Regions from separate parts of the Homo sapiens genome. Here region 1 is linked to region 2. Evidence: promoter capture Hi-C in 16 types of primary human blood cells and fetal thymus (Javierre and others, 2016). All regions are on one chromosome and are shown on one strand. Each heading gives the region's core, a stretch centred on a gene start or on the middle of the fragment in contact. The rest is flanking DNA. Distances are from core to core; before and after follow the strand shown. Region 1 holds the start of FCAR (Fc alpha receptor). Region 2 holds the start of TNNT1 (troponin T1, slow skeletal type).

Region 1 (2,700 bases), core at 1-2,500, 270 kb after region 2:
AGAAACAACTAGAATGGGGATTAAAATAAGAATGGTGCTTCAGGCTATTCTTCAATTTCTTTATCCTAGAGCTCCCAAGAGGGTCTAAAGGGGCTGGGAGAGATTTACAGGACACTTACCTTCCTGTGCCTGAATCCTCTGGCCCAGACAGAGCACTGGAAGAGAGAGATTTATGAAAAATCAAGCTTCCATTTCCAACCTTTACGACAAATCACCCTCTGTAATGACAGACCAGAAAAAGACCAGTACCAGATGGATTCACAGCTCAATCCCACCAGATATATAAAGAAGAGCTGGCATTTTTTTTTTTTTTTGAGACAGAGTCTCGCTGTGTCGCCCAAGCTGGAGTGCAGTGGCATGATCTTGGCTCACTGCAAGCTCTGCCTCCCAGGTTCATGCCATTCTCCTGCCTCAGCCGCACGAGTAGCTGGGACTACAGGCGCCCGCCACCACGCCTGGCTAATTTTTTTGTATTTTTAGTAGAGACAGGGTTTCACCATGTTGGCCAGGATGGTTTTGATCTCCTGACCTTGTGATCCGCCTGCCTTGGCCTCCCAAAGTGCTGGGATTGCAGGTGTGAGCCACTGCGCCCGGCCAAGAAGAGCTAGTATTATTCCTACTGAAACTATTGAAAAAAATCCTGGAGGAGGGACTCCTCCCCAACTCATTCTATGAGGCCAACATTATCCTGATAACAAAATGTGGCAGAGATACAACAAAAACAGAAAACTTCTGGATAATATCTTTGTTGAACATAAATGCAAAAATCTTCAACAAAATACTAGTAACCATATTTCTATATGGGGTTCTATCATATGTTTTCCTTCCACAACAATCACAGTTTTGAGGTTCATTCTTTATTTTTACCTTTCAGATTCCAGCCTCTAAGTCTCTCCTTGATAAGAACCTTGGGACCATCATGAATCCCAGATAACACACTATAGGTTTAATACAAATATTAAACCTTGAGCCCCACAAGCTAGCTTGGGCTTGGGTAGAGACAAAGTTATAGATACATTGACAAAGACGGCCTTTCCACTAAGGAGATCAGAATCTCCTTGGCAGCCACTAAAATCTCCTAGTCACACTGTTAAGAGACACCCTGATTATTTTGGGATTTCTCTATCTTCCCCTCTAACCCACTTTTACTCTGAAACTCACCAAGACACAGGAGGGTGGTCTGTTTGGGGTCCATCGTGCTGACACGGCCTCAGCCCCGTTGCTCTCCTTTCAATGCACATTAGCAGGATGACAGATATTCTTACGACAATAAGCTCCGCAGGAAGTATGAGGACAGAGCCCCTCGTCAGGGAATTTCCACATCTATTGCCTCACAACAAAGTGGAACAGTTCGTTGCCGAATAACTTAGTTCCAGGTTGCTCTTGGGTGGAGCCCAAGAGAAGACATATATATGTATATTTTTTTAAATAGAGATGGGGTCTTTCTATGTTGGCCAGGGTAGTCTCTAACTTCTGGCATCAAGAAATCCTCCTGCCTAAGACCTATATTTCTATTTATGTTTCAGATGAGAAACGAATGAGAAGTGAATTTTCATTAAGCCAGTGTCTAATGGTGTTCAAATTCATCTTTGAACCAGATGCTACATCCAAATAGACGGGCTTGGGACAGAATATAAGGTGGTGGATACCATACAGGCAGACATTGCCTTCACTGGGCCATTAGTCAAAAGCTCTGTGGCTTTGTCTGTTCTGAACCTATGTTTCATCTCTGAGATTCATGGTCTGAGTATATTTACTTGGACTTGACCAGGCATGCAGTATACCCTTATCCTGGAGATGATCTCAATGCCAGAGTGTGGAGGCATTTTCTCTGGCACTATTTGTCATCTCTAAAGAAAGAATCTACTATTTTATTATACTTTTTTGTTTATTTGTATAAATTTAAGGAGCGCAAGTGAAATTTTATTACGTGGATATTTTGTGTAGTGGTGAAGTCTGGGCTTTTAATATAATTATCCTCAAATAATGTACATTGTTGCTCATTGAGTATTTTTTTAACTTTTATTTTAGGTTCAAGGGTACATGGGAAGGTTTGTTATACAGGTAAACTTGTGTCATGGGGGTTTGTTGTACAGATTATTTCATCACCTAGGTAATAAGCTTGGTACCTAATAGTTACTTTGCCTGCTCCTTTCCCGCCTCCCACCCTCCACCCTAAAGGAGACCCCATTGTCTGTTTTTCCCTTTTTTGTGTTCATGAGTTCTATTATTTAGCTTCCACTTATAAGTGAGAACCTGCTGTATTTGGTGTTCTGTTCTTGTATAGTTTGCTAAGGATAATGGCCTCCAGCTCCATCCATGTTTCCACAAAACATATGAACTCATTCTTTTTTTATGGCTTCAAATTAATTTTATTTTTATCTTATTATTTATGTTATTTTGATTGTAGACTCCTGGCTATCACGAATTCTTCAGGTATGGAGAGTGAAATATTCCTAATTAAACCTTCTACTATTTTATTTTATTTTATTTATTCTTTTTTTTTTTTTGAGACGGAGTCTTGCTCTGTCGCCCAGGCTGGAGTGCAGTGGCGTGATCTCAGCTCACTGCAAGCTCCACTTCCTGGGTTCATGCTATTCTCCTGCCTCAGCCTCCCGAGTAGCTGGGACTACAGGCATCCGCCACCACGCCCGGCTAATTTTTTTTGTATTTTCAGTAGAAACGGGGTTTCACCGTGTT
Region 2 (2,700 bases), core at 110-2,609:
CAAGACTAAAGGTCAAAGAGAGAGAGACACAGAGAAACAGACAGGCAGAGAGACATGACCGACAACAGAGAGACTGAGTTGGGAGTAGAGAGAGTAGGAGCCAGGCAAAGACCCAAAGAGAGAGGGAGAAAATACCACAAGATGCATAGAAGGAAGTGCAAAGAAAGGAGAAAAGAGAGACAGAGATATACTCACAGCAAGGTGCAGAGACATGGAGACCCTATAAGAGATGGAAATGGAGAGCCACAGAGGGGGAACTGCGGGCACTAAGAGAGACATGGAGAGAACTAGAAAGATAGAGACGTGAACACAGACACAGAGACCCAGAGCCAAAAAGAGACAGAAATGGGGTCATAGGTGGACAGAAATGCACAGAGAGACTGTGAGCCCCCACAGACACAAACGCTGAGAGGGGCAGACATGCAGAGACACCCACAGAAATGCAGAGACAAAACCACCCGGAGACACATGCCGAGAAACACACTGAGGGGCTCAGAAAGCGACAGATGCAGAGAGAGCCCAAGACAGACCCAGCAAGGGGCCCCGAGAAATGCACAGAAACACAAAGACCGAGACCACCAGAGACAGAGGTACGGAGAGGCGGGGAGGGTGAGGAAGCCTGCTCTCCAGGGCTGGCTTGAACCTAGAACTCAAGGTCATGGCTTGGCTGGGAAGCGGGAGGGGGATACCAAAAAAGATCAGCGTTAGATGGAGGTGGGGAGGGAGGGTAGGTTTCACCCTAATTGACACCCCACCCTCCCCCTCCCCCTCCCCACACCTGCTTCCCGGCTTTAGTGCCTGTTGTCACCAGGATGGAATCCTGGCGGCAGACAAAGGGGTGGGGGTGGGAGGAGGAGACAAAAAGATGGACAGAGACAGAGGAGGAGACTAAGAAGTAGAGACAGACACACAGAGACACACAGATGGAGAGCCACAGAGACAACAGAAATGGGGGTCCAGAAAGAGACCTAGATAGAAAGAGGGAACAGAGAGAAGAAAACAGGAAACATTCCTTATAGCCCATGTGTCATTAGTAGGTCCTCCAAGGACCTACTGTGTGCCGGGCATGGGGACGTCAAAGCACAGGGAGCTATAAGGGAGGTAGTTGGAGCACCACGGGAGCCTGGGGTGTGGGGTGGGAGCAGGGGCGGGGCTCCTGGGCCATGCAGATGGGGTTGGCATGGGGTTGGGGAGGGGCCCACGGAGGCTTCTGGACTCTGAGTGTGGAGCCAGGGGCAGCAGGGCTGTCTCTGAACTCCCAGGCTTGTGTTTGAGCAAAGGAATTCTCTCCCCCTCCCTCTCCCCTCGGGGCGGGCCCGAGCCTCCAGCTATAAACTCCCCGGAGCTTCAGTGCCCTCAGCAAGGCTCAGCCTCAAGATTCACAGCATCTCAGACACAGCCTAGGTAAGGGGCTCTGCGGAGCCCTGTGGTCTTCAAAAACCATGTCCTTGGGGGAGGGGGCAGGAGGCAGGTGGGGAAGATGTCGGGTGTGGAGAAATGGTGCAGAGGTAGGTGGGGCATACAACTGGAGGTCTGGGAACTTGAGAGGCTCAGACTTTAGGGGGACTCAGGATAGAGGGGAAAATACTAGGATTTGTGGGTTACACAAATCCTAACCCGGGGCTGCCAGGACTTGGATGTCCCAGAATAAAACCTCCTAGGATCTTGGGGTTCTGGGAATCTGGGGGAAATCTCAGCAGTCAGGGATATCTGGACTTGGAGGTCAAACAATCTGGGTGTCAGGATTTGGGGCCTCAGACTCTGAGGGTATCAGGAATTGGGGGGGTCTCAGAAGAAATTGGGGTTTTGGTAGTGGAGGGCTCGGAATCTGAGACATTATGATAGAAAGCATGAAAACTTAGAGTGCCATTATCTGGGGTATCATGAACTGGGCCTCCGAGTTTGGGTATCAAGATTTTGGGGGTCTCATATTCTTGAGGTTTCAGATTTTAGGAGGTCTCAAGACCTGGGGGTGGTCTTAGGATGTCCCGGCCCATATCTGGACTATCAAGAACTGGGATTTCAGAATCCAGAGCTGTGAGGACTTGCTGGCCTCAGAAACACGGGCATCATAAATCGGGGTCTCAGAATCTGTGGGTATTGGGATTTGGGGCTAGGCACCCTGTGGCCTAGGGTGTCTCAAAGACTTTGAGGTCTAAGAATGTAGGGGTCAGGGTGAGGTCTACGGACAGAAGGTGCCCTTTATGCCCCTGCCCCCTACGTGATGTATGGGAAGGTGAAAGGGGAGACAGGTGGGGAGGAAACCAGCCAGTGGGGTGGGGCGAGTGGGAGAGGGGATGCGGGTGACTAATTCTCCCAGAAGCCCCCCTTCCTCAAATCCCTTCTTAGGAAATGTCCTCGGTTTCACCATCTATGACATCCCCCCAAAATAGCTCCTGGGGGTGGGGCAGCTATTGTCTTCAGGCCACTGTCCCTTCTCAAATGCCTCTTCCTAATCCCAACTGGATCAGGTTCCCATGGACTTGTCATAAGACAAAAGAGGACAGCTGTGCTGAGGGGGCAGGGTCTGCAGCCTCCTGGCTGTGCCAGGACCACACCTACCAAGGTCTGTCCTCATGCATGCTTTAGGACAGCCGGCCCCCTCCCTCAGACCCAAGAGTCCAGACCTGAGCCCTCCTCCCTCAGACGCAGGAGTACAGGCCCCCAGCCCGCTCCTCCCTCAGACTCAGGAGTCTAGAC

What was found. The method cuts DNA at HindIII sites, captures the fragments that hold promoters and counts their contacts. A CHiCAGO score of 5 or more calls a contact.
Region 1: a contact is called between the fragment with the promoter of FCAR here and the fragment with the promoter of TNNT1 in region 2, in 2 of 17 cell types (M2 macrophages and M0 macrophages). The highest score is 12.6, in M2 macrophages.

The regions. Positions count from the first base shown.
Region 1 is chr19:54,872,785-54,875,484 of GRCh38, reverse strand. It overlaps FCAR (Fc alpha receptor), which reads right to left and starts at 1,250. Exons shown (of 5, transcript NM_002000.4): 1 at 1,162-1,250; 2 at 120-155. The coding sequence starts at 1,195. The HindIII fragment of the contact is 1,936 bases long and covers 188-2,123 here.
Region 2 is chr19:55,147,865-55,150,564 of GRCh38, reverse strand. It overlaps TNNT1 (troponin T1, slow skeletal type), which reads left to right and starts at 1,359. Exons shown (of 14, transcript NM_003283.6): 1 at 1,359-1,404. The HindIII fragment of the contact is 19,232 bases long and covers 1-2,700 here.